2 separate regions of the Homo sapiens genome follow, and region 2 is linked to region 1. The links are contacts of gene promoters, found by promoter capture Hi-C in blood cells and fetal thymus (Javierre and others, 2016). All regions are on one chromosome and are shown on one strand. Each heading gives the region's core, a stretch centred on a gene start or on the middle of the fragment in contact. The rest is flanking DNA. Distances are from core to core; before and after follow the strand shown.

Region 1 (6,377 bases), core at 3,776-6,275:
ATCCACCCGCCTCAGCCTCCCAGAGTGCTGGGATTACAAGTGTGAGCCACCACACCCAGCTTACCCCAAAATATTTCTAACAGCTTGTATTTGTTTCTTAGGGCCGCTGTAACAAGGTACCACAAACTGAGGGCTTAAAACAACAGAAACTTATTCTCTCACAGTTTTGGAGGCCAGAAGTCCAAAATCAAGGTGTTGGTAGGGTTAAGCTCCTTTGGAAGACTCTAGTAAAGAATTCTTCCTTGCCTCTTTCAGCTGCTGGTGGCTCCCAACAATTCTTGGTTTTCCTTACCTTGTAGTTCCCTCACTCCTATCTCTGCGTCTTTCATGTGGCCTTTTTCCCTGTGTGTCTGTTCTCTTCTTATAAACACATTGGTGATGGGATTTAGGGCCCACCATAATCCAGTATAACCCCATCTTAATTTATTTTTTATTTTTTTCTTTCTATATAAGACAGGGTCTCCCTATGTTGCCCAGGCTGGTCTTCAACTCCTGGGCTCATGGGATCTTCCTGCCTTGGCCTCCCAAAGTGCTAGGATTACAGGCATGAGCCACCACACCCGGCCTATATTTTTTTATTTTATTTTATTTTATTTTTTGAGACAGGATCTCACTCTGTCACAGAGGCTGGAGTGCAGTGGCACAATCTGGGCTATTTTTAGTAGAGATGGGGTTTCTCCATCTTGGCCAGGCTGGTCTTGAACTCCTGACCTCAGGTGATCCACCCGCCTGGGCCTCCCAAAGTGCTGGGATTACAGGCATTAGCCACCTAGCCTGACTGTACCTTATCTTAACTAATTGTATCTGCAAAAGCCCTATTTCCAAATAAGGTCACACTTTTTTTTTTTTTAGACAGGGTCTTGCTCTGCCACCCAGGCTACAGTGCAGTGCGGTACAGTCATAGCTCACTGTCAACTAGCTTCTGTGCTCAAGTTATCCTCCTACCTCAGCCTCCCAAGTAGCTGGGACTACAGGCATGCACCACCATGCCTAACTAATTTTTTTTTTTTTAGTAGAGATGGCGTCTCACTATATTGCCCAGGCTGGTTTTGAACTCCTAGGCTCAAGTCATCCTCCCGCCTTGGCCTCCCAAAGTGCTGGGATTACAGGCATGAGCCACTGCACCTGGCCCTGGGTCACACTTTGAGGTTACAGGTGAACATTGAATTGTTGTGGGAGTCCCTATTCAATCCACTACAGGGGTCTACAGTTTCCACTTGACTAAAAGTGTCACTAATACTCAATTGTCAAAAGGCATGTTATCTGTGTAGAGCACGTGGACAAGTATACTAGGTTTGAGGGACTTCCAATTGAGAGACTCAATGCACTGTCACGCAACTCTATACAAGCTTTATTTCATTTTAGTGAAAATGTATTTTCCTCTCATGGGAAGGAAGCAGAATATCAGAATTTTAAAGAGAGGAGCAGAATTTAAAGAAATCCCCACATTTTTACAACATAGCTGAAGCTTATATATCATAATAGTCCACAGGTTTGTACTTAGGACTTTTGCTTTAACCATGATCCAGCAGGCACGGCCGGGACGGGAATATAATTATTTAAGAAGGAGGTAACCAAGTGAATTCTGGATTAAACTGTCATTTTTCCAATCTCCCTCATTGTGCAGAGAGAAAGGAGAATTGTTTCAATTCCTCACACAATACTCTTATCTCATCCTTGGCAAGAACCCTCATGCCTCTTCTTTGGCATTTTAGGTGAGGGGCAGCTCACTACCTCCCGAGACAACCCACTTTACCCCAGGACAGTTTCATCTACAAAACTGTCCTTTTCTTTCTTTTTTGAGTCAGGGTCTTGCTCTGTCACCCAGGCCAGAGTGCAGTGGCACCATTATGGCTCACTGCAGCCTCAAACTCCTGTGCCCAGGTGATCCTTCTACCACAGCCTTGCAAGTAGCTGGGACCACAGGTGTGTACCACCATACCCGGCTTGCTTATTTATTTACTTATTTATTTAGAGATGGGGCCTAGTTATGTTGTCCAGCCTGGTCTCCAACTCCTGGCTTCAAGCGATCCTTCTGCTTCAGCCTTCTGAGTGGCGGAATTCATAGGTGTGAGCCATGAATGTTGCCCAGCAAAACGTTCCTTAATAAGTAGGTTTTATCATCCCCATGCTTCAGACTAGAACATGGGGCTTACAGAGGTATCATATCATGCAGACACATGGTGAAAAGACTAGAAGGATATATATATATATATATAGTTATAAGGCCGGGTGTGGTAGCTCATGCCTATAATCCCAGCACTTTGGGAGGCCAAGGCGGGCGGATCGCGAGGTCAGGAGTTCAAGACCAGCCTGGCCAACATAGTGAAACCTCATCTCTACAAAAAATACAAAGACTGGCAGGGCGCAGTGGCTCACACCTGTAATCTCAATACTTTGGGAGGCCGAGTGGGCGGATCACGAGGTCAAGAGATTGAGACCATCCTGGCCAACATGGTGAAACCCTGTCTCTACTAAAAATACAAAAATTAGCTGGGAGTGGTGGCACACACTTGTAGTCCCAGCTACCCAGGAGGCTGAGGCATGAGAATCACTTGAACACAGGAGGGGGAGGTTGCAGTGAGCTGAGATGGCGCCATTGCACTCCAGCCTGGCGACAGAGTGAGACTCCATCTCAAAAAAAAAAAAAAAAAAAAAAAAAAAAAAAAGCTGGGCATGGTGGCGTGTGCCTGTAGTCCCAGCTACTCGGGAGGCTGAGGCAGGAGAATCGCTTGAACCTGGGAGGTAGAGGTTATGGTGAGCCAAGATCGCGCCATTGCACTCCAGCCTGGGCAACGGAGCAAGACTCCGTGTCAAAAAAAAAAAAAAAAAAAAAGATGTTATGTGATTTTCTTAATTTTCCTAAAATTTTTTTCCTTCCTTCCTTCCTTTCTCTCTCTCTCTCTCTCTCTCTCTCTCTCTCTCTCTCTCTCTCTCTCTTTCTTTTATTGAGACGGAGTCTCGCCTCGCTTTGTCACCCAGGCTGGAGTGCAATGGCCCAATGTCCGCCAACTGCCACCTTTGCCACCCTAGGTCAAGCGGTTCTTGTGCCTCAGCCTCCCAAGTAGCTGGGACTGCAGGTGTGTGCCACACCTGGCTAATTTTTTTTGTATTTTTAGTAGAGACAGGGTTTTGCCATGTTGATCAGGCTGGTCTCAAACTCCTGACCTCAGGTGATCCACCCACCTCGGCCTCCCAAAGTGCTGGTATTGCAGGCGTGAGCCACTGAGCCCGGCCTCCTAAAATGTTTTAAGTACAAACGAATTAATTTTTTAAAACCATGATTATGGGTCCTTCAGTTCAAGGTCACTGAGAAAGTGGGAGTCAGGATTGGAACCCATTACTGGACAACTTCCAGTGTATGTGGAATTTTCTGGACTCTCTTCCAGTGACCCCAGTCTTCCGCCTTTATTGTCCTTCCAGTTTCAGGGCTCCTCTCACTCCAGGCTGGGCCTCCACCTCCAGCTGTGGCCCTCATCCCGGAGACTAGGACAGAGCAGAGGAGGGCTTCATAGTGATGGGCCCCCAGGCCTGGGCCCTTGAGTGAGGCTGGCATCAAGGTATCCTGTGGCATACCGCCCCCCCCATCCAGTTCCCTGGGCAGCCACCATTGCGTTTGTCCCTGTGTCTCCGGTATTAACACCTGGCGAGAAAGTGTTGGAAGGAGACCCACTACAAGGCAGCCTCACCAGCTGTGTGATTTGGTAATTTGGCCAGATTAAGGAAGGAAAGCGCGTTCGCCTGGAGTGTGGAATGAACGTACAGGGTGATCATTACCGTTTTCAGCGCTGCCGTCACTGTCGCCGCATGTGAGACACCCCCTCCTCCCCAAGGCCAGTGATTGCGCCAGAGCTCCTGCGCGCTGGCAAGCAGGTGACGCCGCGGGTGACGGCCAGCCAGGGCGGGGGTTGTGGGGGCGGGAGGCAAGGGGAGAAGAGGGCATGTTCCCATCGGTGAGGCGAGAACTCACCCGTGGTCCAAAGCAACGAGGGCGGGGGGCACCCTCCATCTCTACCGCACTCCCTCGGGGCACACACTGGCGCGCTCCGCGTCCTCAGGTGCTCCGAGCTTCCCCGCGTCACCCGCAGCCCAGGGCGCCCCCCGCGACGCCGCCATTCATTCCTCCTACACTGCGAGCGCACCACTCCAGAGCCGCGGGGGGCTACAGCCACCGGACTAGGGCTGGGGGTGTCTGCCCTGGTGCGCGCGCGTCGGCCCAGTTTCTATAGACCCCTCCTAGGAGAGACTGAAATACCCAGATTCAGGAGACGGAGACACTGGCACAGAGATACAGGAGTCAAGAATGGAGATAGATAGAGAAAGGCAGACACTTAAGGGACAGGCATAGACAAAGGCCATAACACAGCGAAAGAGATACGGGGCACAGAGACAGAGAGATACAGACACTTAGAGATGGACTGACACACACAAAGGCGGAGACAGAGACACAGACCGGCACTCAGAGGCGCACGGACCCTGACGATCTACTTAAGACCAGCAGAGCAACTAGTACAAGAGCGCGTCAGCGGCAAGGGCACCATCCCACTGGCCCGAGCTCTTCCCGCGCTGTGGGTTCGTGCCTTCCCCAGTCACCCTGTACCCGAGTCTCCTCCCCGCGCATTTCCCGCTCCCCGCTTTCCATTGCCAGCCCTGCGGCCGCCTTCCCGCCCCAACGCGCCCGGCCAGCTTTTGCCCTCCTGCTCCCAGTCCCCCTTGCACGCCTCTCCCAGCCTAGGGGTCAGACCCTCCTCCAAGCTCCTCCAGTACCAGGCTCGATCCCACCCCCCTTCGGTCCCGCCCCTCCCCGCGAGGTCCCGGCCGGGTTGGCTGGTACTATTCCCCAAGACCCACGTGCTGGCCATTCCCCGCCACAGTGCGGGAACCTCCCACTCCAGCTGCCTCTGTTCCCGGGGTAGCTGGGCGCGCTCCTGCCCCCGGCCCCGCCTCTTTCCCCTGGCCAGTGCCCGCCCCGCCTCCACCGCGCCCCGCCCGCCGTGCTCTGCCGCAGTCGGGCGCTCATCGTCATTCCGCTCTTGCCGCCGCCGCCGCCACCCCCGCCCCCCGCCCCCGCCCCCGCCCGGTCCCCGCCACCGCCGCCGCCGCCGCCTGCCCAGCGGCCCGGGAGGCGGAGGCGCGGGGGAGGAGGCCCCGCTTGGCTCCTCAGCCCCGGATGCTGCATGACTTCATCCTTCCGCCGGCTCCCCTGCTGAGGTAGGGCCGGTCCGGCAGCAAGCCCGCCGCCCGCGCCCCGCCGCAGTCCCGCTCCCGCCCCGCGCCCACCCCGCGCCCGCCATGTCCGAGATCCTGCCCTACAGCGAAGACAAGATGGGCCGCTTCGGCGCAGACCCCGAGGGCTCCGACCTCTCCTTCAGCTGCCGCCTGCAGGACACCAACTCCTTCTTCGCGGGCAACCAGGCCAAGCGACCCCCCAAGCTGGGCCAGATCGGCCGAGCCAAGCGAGGTACGCGGCCCGGGCCCGGAGTCGCCGCCTGACCCAGAAACCCTCCGCCGGGCGCCCCCCGGCTGCCGTTCCCCGCCGAGTGCCCGCAGCTCTTGCCGCAGACCAGCGCACCAGCCGCTCTCCAGCCCGGGCTGGAGGGGGGGGTCCCCGCTGCAGTGTGTGTCCCCCTCTTCCCTTCTCCCGGGAACACGGTGCCCCGGATTCGATGCTCGCCACCTCTGGAAGCAGAGCCCTGGCACCCGGGCGAGGGGGAGGGGCCGGTCGGGGCATTTGGGGCTGCACGGAAGTGGGAGCACGGGGTAACGGGCTGATTCTTTGGGATCAAATACTGAGTCGGTGGACAATACGAAGAACCTTCGGGTCGAGAGGGACGTCTAACAAGAGAGGGCAGGAGGCCGGGGGTCCGCTTGTCTTGGTTGTTTGCATGGGGAGGGGAGCTCTGTTGGTGCCAGGATCGGAAGAGGGGTTCCAGCGGCGAGAGGGCTCAGGTTGAGGAGAGGGCTGGACCAGCTGGATACTCGGTTTGAGCCCCATTTGAGCAGGGGGATCTGTTGAAGTGCGGGTTGAAGAGGGGGATTCCGTGAGCAAGAGGTTTCTGATCAACTCAGAGGGAGGAAGGCTCAGGTGGCAGGAGGGCTCGCACTGGGAGGGAGAATAGCTGGAGCCTTTGGAAGAGGGGCGTTCCGCCATCGGGAGGGGAGGGGGTCTAGGCTTGGCGGCGGGTTGGGTCTCCAGAAGAGTTCGGACGGGGAGGACACCGCGGCACAGGGTTCCGAGGGGCGTCGCTGGGCCACGGGCAGTAGCTGCGCGGGAAGCTAGGACGCGGGGCTCATTCTCATCGCCGCCGCCCCCCGAGGCCGCGCGGCTGACGCGCTTTCTCCCTGCGCAGTGGTGATCGAGGATGACCGGATAGACG
Region 2 (6,876 bases), core at 32-2,531, 270 kb after region 1:
CACTGCAAGCTCCGCCTCCCAGGTTCACACCGTTCTCCTGCTTCAGCCTCCCGAGTAGCTGGGACTATAGGTGCCTGCCATGGCGCCCAGCTAATTTTTTGTATTTTTTTTTAGTAGAGACGGGGTTTCACCGTGTTAGCCAGGATGGTCTCGATCTCCTGACCTCGTGATCCGCCCACCTTGGCCTCCCAAAGTGCTAGGATTACAGGCGTATATGCTTTGAAAGCGATGAAAATCTCACCTTATTCTCTGTTTTAGCTGCATCCCAGAGATGTTGATGTATTGCAGTTTCATACTGTTTAGCACAGAATATGTTCTGGTTTCCATTTAATGCCTTCTTTTTATTTATTAATTTAAAGAGATAGAGTCTTGTTCTGTTGCCCAGTCTGGAGTGTAGTGGTGAGATCAAAGTTCACTGCAGCCTCAAACTCCTGAGCTCAAGCAATCCTCCCACCTCAGCCTCCTGAGTAGTTGAGATTATATAGGTACAAATTGTCATGCCCGTTTGATGTTTTCTTTCACTTACATTACTTAGAAGTATATTGCATAATTTCTGAACATTCAGATATTTTAAAAATCTTTGTTACTGAACTCTAATTAAATCCTAAAGTGGTCAGAGTGCATGTATACATGATGTCAGTCTTGAGATTTGTTGAGGTTTGCTTTATAGCCCAATGTATAGTCCATTTTGGCAATGTATTTGAAGTGACATTTTTCAGATCTTTTGTCATCTTCTGAAGCTTTGGATATCCAAATAAGGCTGGTCCCTGTAACATTCTGTACCTACTCTGTACAGATTCCCAGTTTCTACTCACTTAAAGTAGGTGTGCTTGTATTTTTAGTGTATCTTTCTCTCTCAATCCAGGAGGTTTTTTCCTTCCCCTTGTGATTATATGCAGCTCATAGGTAAGAAAAACCTTTGTAATGTACTTAAATCTCAGCAGTCCTCAGCTCATTATCAAGTGCCGTAGTCCCTAACCACTAAATTAAGTGTTGACCTTATACATAAGGACTTCATTTAAGAGCGAGTTCGTTCTTGTTGTTGACTCCTGTCATGTTGTACCATTATTCTCTTGAAACTGGTCTGACTTGCCTTTGACAAAAGGAAAGGAGTGTGCTTTGCAGGGCTATGTGCTTTCCTAATACCAGAAGTTATCTAAAGATACTTAACTGTGCTGTGAACTAAAGCTATTGTGTTTGATCTGCCCAGGCATCCAGCTGACTCCTGTATACAAAATTCTACCCGTTCAGTTCTGTTAATGTTTAAGTTCCCGCTGTTCTTTGGTGGGAAAGGAGGTGATGTATAAAAATCAACTGCTTTGTATAAGGCTTGGTGTGTTAGGTGCTAAACCACTTAACTTTTTCTTGATTTGGGGATCTATTCTCCTTGTTTTTTTGTTTGTTTGTTTGTTTTTTGTTTTTTTTTTCCTTCTTTTAGAGACAGAGTCTTGCTCTGTCACCCAGGCTGGAGTGCAGTGGTACGATCATAGCTCATTGCAGCCTCCAACTCCTGGGCTGAAGTCATCCTCCTGCCTCCATCTCCCAAGTAGCTGGTACTGCAGGCACGCATCACCATGCCTGGCTGATTTTTTTTTTTTACTTTTTGTAGAGATGGTGTGTTGCTGTGTTGCCCAGGGTGGTCTTGAACTCCTGAGCTCAACCGATCCTTCCAAAGTGTCAGGATTACAGGCGCGAGCCACCATGCCCAGCTGAGATCTGTTTTTTACTGTTTCACAATAATTGCTGGAAATATTTGTAATAATGTGACTTTCACTGCTAAGACAGAAAAGGAAGATAAGGAAATTGAGGAAAATGAAGCTTCTGCTTCTACAACAGGAAAGCATAAACGTTTGAGTTACTTTTAGAGTAAACGGGGGATAAGTGTGTCTAGATTCTTGACCCACCCTCTTCTGCCACAGTCAGACTTAGAATGCACTTTTGCATGCACTTTTGTTAATCTAATGAACGAACATTTATACACTTTCTAGTTAGTAAATACGTGTAACTTTATATTTCAGCTCATGAGATCCTTTGCTGCGTGCTGCAGGGAAGTGTAGAGCTCTTCAGCTGTGCAGCCAGGATAAGAACTCACGTTCTGTTCTCCCTGCTGCTGCTGTGACAGGGGAGGCACGTGTACATCCAGGCTCTTTCTGTGTGGCAGGGCTGTTTAATTGGGGCTGATGGAAATTTTTGTCATAGGAAATGGGCAATCAGATTTTCAGTTAGTAGTGAAATAATTGACTCTCAATCCATATTGGGAAACAGAAGATAAAACATTTGGTAATAAAAATGTAAATTTTAGAACATAGAACACAAAGAGTGGTCCATAAGCTGGGCGCGGCAGCTCACACCTATAATCCCAACACTTTGGGAGGCTGAGGTGGGCGGATCACGAGGTCAAGAGATCAAGACCATCCTGGCCAACATGGTGAAACCCCGTGTCTACTAAAAATACAAAAATTAGCTGGGCATGGTGGTGCACGCCTGTAACCCCCCTACTCGGAGGCTGAGACATGAGAATTGCTTGAACCGGGGAGGCTGAGATTGCAGTGATCCAAGATCATGCCACTGCACTCCGGCCTGGGCAACAGAGCGAGACTCCATCTCAAAAATAAAATAAAATAAAAACAGGGCCGGGCGCGGTGGCTCATGCCTGTAATCCCAGCACTTTGGGAGGCCAAGGCAGGTGGATCATGAGGTCAGGAGTTCGAAACCAGCCTGACCAACATGGTGAAACCCCACCTCTACTAAAAATACAAAAATTAGCCAGGCATGGTGGCACATCCCTGTAATCCCAGCTACTCAGGAGGCTGAGGCAGGAGAATTGCTTGAACCCGGGAGGTGGAGGTTGCAATGAGCCGAGATTGCGCCACTGCACTCCAGCCTGGGTGACAGAGGGAGACTCTATCTCAAAAAAACCCAAAAAAACAAAGAGCGGACCCTAATGTAACCTATGGACTTCAGTTAATAATGAATCTGTATTGGCTCATCAATTGTAACAAAGGTACCACACTAATGGAAGATGTTAATAATAGGAAAAACAGATGAGGAGGACGGGAGAGGTACAGAGGTATATGGGAGCATTCTGTACTATCTGATTAGTTTTTCTGTAAAACCTAAAGATGCTAAAAAAAAAAAAAAGAAAACTGTTTAAAATTTTTAAATATCTAGCTTAATGTTCCCCAATGGGTTCAAATCATACAAAGTTAGTGTTTAACCTCCTGACCCTTGCTTGGAATTTCTCAGTTAAGATGAGTCCAGTTTGCAGTTTGAGCTGTTTCATCAGTTCCGTTTGCCTCTCGCCTGTGTATTAACTGTGCTCTTGCCTTTCTCCCTATCTGCTGGAACAGTTGGAATGCCAAGATGCCTTGGAAACAGCAGCCCGAGCCGAGGGCCTCTCTCTTGATGCCTCCATGCATTCTCAGCTCAGAATCCTGGATGAGGAGCATCCCAAGGGAAAGTACCATCATGGCTTGAGTGCTCTGAAGCCCATCCGGACTACTTCCAAGTAAGATGCCGTGCTGAGTGATGACAGTGAAGCATCAAAGGCCTTTTTTTTTTTTTTTTTTTTTTTTTGAGATGGAGTCTTGCTCTGTCGCCAGTGGCATGATCTCGGCTCACTGCAACCTCCGCCTCCTGGGTTCAAGTGATTCTCCTGCCTCTCAGCCTCCTGAGTAGCTGGGACTACAGGCGTGCACCACCACCAAGCCCAGCTAATTTTTTTGTATTTTTAGTAGAGACGGGGTTACACCATATTGGCCAGGATAGTCTCAATCTCCTGACCTCATGATCTGCCCGCCTCGGCCTCCCAAAGTGCTGGGATTACAGGTGTGAGCCACCGCGCCCGGCCCATCAAAGCCGTTTTAGAACATTCAGGCTAAGATTAGATCATCTGGGGAGACTGGTCTTTAGCTAAGAGCTGTGTTCACTAAACAGTGTCCATTAAACACGGGCTGCCCTCTCCGTGCGTGTTGATAGCTTTGTGATTTCGGTTTTCTCTCCTTAGACACCAGCACCCAGTGGACAATGCTGGGCTTTTTTCCTGTATGACTTTTTCGTGGCTTTCTTCTCTGGCCCGTGTGGCCCACAAGAAGGGGGAGCTCTCAATGGAAGACGTGTGGTCTCTGTCCAAGCACGAGTCTTCTGACGTGAACTGCAGAAGGTAGGCGCCTCTGGTCCACCCTCATCTCCCCCATGCCGGGTGGGCAGGGCCTGAGCTAGGAGTGTGAAGTCCACAGCTCTGTGTCTTTAAAGAGCCGAGCTGTCCAGTGGAGGGCGGGCGGCCTGGGGATGACTTTCTCTTTGCTCTTTTGCTTTATCTCCTATTTCACCTTTGATCCTGTTTTAACCACGGGCTTTCTCTCTCTCTCTCAGCCCCGCTTCTCTTCCTGAGTCTGCAGGGAGATTATGTTGCTGCCTTGTGACAGAATACATTTTTGTGGTAGCTGATTGTCATGATTAAAATGTAGTTTACAACTTTACATTTTACCACAGGAACCTTCAGAAAGGGTTGGGGGCCCCTGAAAAAGAAAGTTCTTATTCACAAATTGCATTCAGGGATCATTTTCCTGGGTGGAAAGAAAGGCTTTTGCTCTCATCATTTTCTGTATCCTGGGAGGCTCCTTATACAGGGTAAATGTGTAGTTCCCTAGGAAGGGTATTTTTTCCCAGAAGGTGAAGACTATGTACATAATTTTAAAGGAGAGACTTGTGTGAGTGGTGGCAAAACCTGGAGACAAAAAGTGGTGGCAGGCGGGGAGCTAGGTGTGCCTTTCCCCCGAGGAGATGTGTAACGAGGACGTGTGCCCTTGTTAAGACTAGAGAGACTGTGGCAAGAAGAGCTGAATGAAGTTGGGCCAGACGCTGCTTCCCTGCGAAGGGTTGTGTGGATCTTCTGCCGCACCAGGCTCATCCTGTCCATCGTGTGCCTGATGATCACGCAGCTGGCTGGCTTCAGTGGACCAGTAAGTTCTAACCATCCTTTCCGACAGTCTCCAGGGGCCCGGCCACGGCCAGCTCTAACACTCTTATTCTGTTGCAGAGGTTGTGCTCAGCTTTGGGCTAGGTAGCAGTCTTAGAGATGCCTTCAGGTCTGTTGAAAGGGGTCGATGGATTTTGGCAACAGCTGGAAGGATGAAAGGGCAGTGTTGCCAGAGAAGAAATGGAACTGGCTTGATTTCTGGGTGGGGGTGAAATGGAACTGACTCCAGTTCTGCACAGGACTGTGCTTCTCGGTTGTGTGTTAACATGAACTGACAGTCGGTGCAGGCAGATGTGTCTTGCAGTGCTATGAGTGGGTGAGAGCACGTTGTGTGGCCCGGGCTGGTGAGCCAGCACCGGGAACATACCAAGTGCCTGGAGGCAGTTATCACATGTTTGGCAGGTCTGTGGCAAATAAGCCCTGAGAAAACTAGAGGACTGTCGAGGATTTTAGAGTCTGACCTGGAGTCCGTTTAAGTTTGGCTTATAGTGTGACTGTGTGGCAAGTGTTGGGGTGGCAGCCGTGGTTTTCCCCAGTCTGTACTGATGCAGAGTAGACAAGAGAGCCTTTGACGTTCACTCTGTTTCCTGGGCACCTGTTTCTTACACCTGCTGTGCTGCCTTACACTTGAGACCTTGATTAAATCTATTCTCTACACATTTGCCTTGAGGCATCGGAGCAGTAGTACTGCTTGTACTGTGCGTTTTCCATATGTGGGTAAGCTGGAGGTTCATGGTTTTGGTAAGTATGTGCCTAAGATGCATGGCAATTAGGTAAAACTAATTTGCAGTTTTGTTTTTGTTTTTATTTTTTTAACGTTTGATGCCTCTTGTTAAAGTTTTGATCTCTTTTCTGAAGCAGAGAACACTACTTTTCTGGTATTGGGTTTCTATATTATTAATAATTGACCAACTAACATACTTTATATAAAAGTTTTAAGTAAGAAGGACCATGTAACTGAAATGTTGTGTTATGTAATTTACCAAAATGGCAAACATTTTCATAGAGCCAGCTTCCCCCAAGAAGAGCTTCTGTCATTGTTTCACTACAGGGCTGGTGGCTGCTCTGATCTCATAGAATTCATTCCTCTGGGTAGCACCATATGCAGGCTTTGCGAATAAAGTGATCATGGGCTTTCTTGATTCCATTTGGCCAATGCAAGAACTTCATTGGCTCCCCTCTAAAAAAAATTCCATGGATTGCTGGGATTTTTATTTTTTATTTTTTGAAAAAAATGGTACCTATCCGTATTCAGCTTGGTGGCTTCACAGTCCCTCCCCTGAACATCCGTATATTCCTTATTCTCTCATTTATGGTGCAGAACACTGGGGTACTAACCTCTAGGAAACTGTTCTAGCTGCCAGGGAAAGCTAAGAGCCCTCCTTTAACAGGAAAGCAGCAGCATGCTTTTTCTTCTCTCTGCCGTTTCAGGGAAGAGCACCTTAAGGCCAGTGTTATTTCATGGGATTCTGCCCTAGAGCTGAGAAAGTAATGGACTCATCCATAATCTCTTTTATAGATTTGAAAGTGTAAACAATACACACTTCCTTTTTTGGAACTCCAATTCTAATATGTTTCTTTTTCATTGGAAATTGAAAAACCAGGCTGGTTTTGAGATTAGTACTAGCAGTGAGTAAACCTCCTGTCTGTGGACTTAAATCCTTTTGAGGAACATTTCGTTTTAGATTTTTACAAGTTTTCTAATCTGGCACGACTTTCAAACTAGCTTAATCTGTTCTTACAGAAACCTGTGTAAGGACAGACTGCCCACATACGGGCTCCCCAAATAAAATGGCATTTTTATTTCTTGTCCCTGCTCGGGTTTCACCGAACCTTGGTAGCCATAATCAGAACAAATGAAACACAGTCAAGTTGTTGTGTTCTGTTTGTTTTTA

What was found. The method cuts DNA at HindIII sites, captures the fragments that hold promoters and counts their contacts. A CHiCAGO score of 5 or more calls a contact.
Region 2: a fragment that was not itself captured here is called in contact with the fragment with the promoter of CAMK2N2 in region 1 in 3 of 17 cell types (endothelial precursors, M1 macrophages and M0 macrophages); the score reaches 7.4 in endothelial precursors.

The regions. Positions count from the first base shown.
Region 1 is chr3:184,260,201-184,266,577 of GRCh38, reverse strand. CAMK2N2 (calcium/calmodulin dependent protein kinase II inhibitor 2) reads left to right here and starts at 5,025. Exons shown (of 2, transcript NM_033259.3): 1 at 5,025-5,461; 2 at 6,351-6,377. The coding sequence starts at 5,293. All of the region lies in intron 2 of EEF1AKMT4-ECE2 (EEF1AKMT4-ECE2 readthrough), which reads right to left. RefSeq lists enhancers at 3,171-3,933, 5,819-6,370, 6,371-6,377. The HindIII fragment of the contact is 12,942 bases long and covers 1,471-6,377 here.
Region 2 is chr3:183,985,858-183,992,733 of GRCh38, reverse strand. It overlaps ABCC5 (ATP binding cassette subfamily C member 5), which reads left to right. Exons shown (of 30, transcript NM_005688.4): 3 at 3,351-3,508; 4 at 4,007-4,162; 5 at 4,817-4,964. Among named protein-coding and RNA genes, the nearest start is that of ABCC5-AS1, 17 kb to the left of the region's middle. RefSeq lists an enhancer at 2,161-2,661. The HindIII fragment of the contact is 1,078 bases long and covers 743-1,820 here.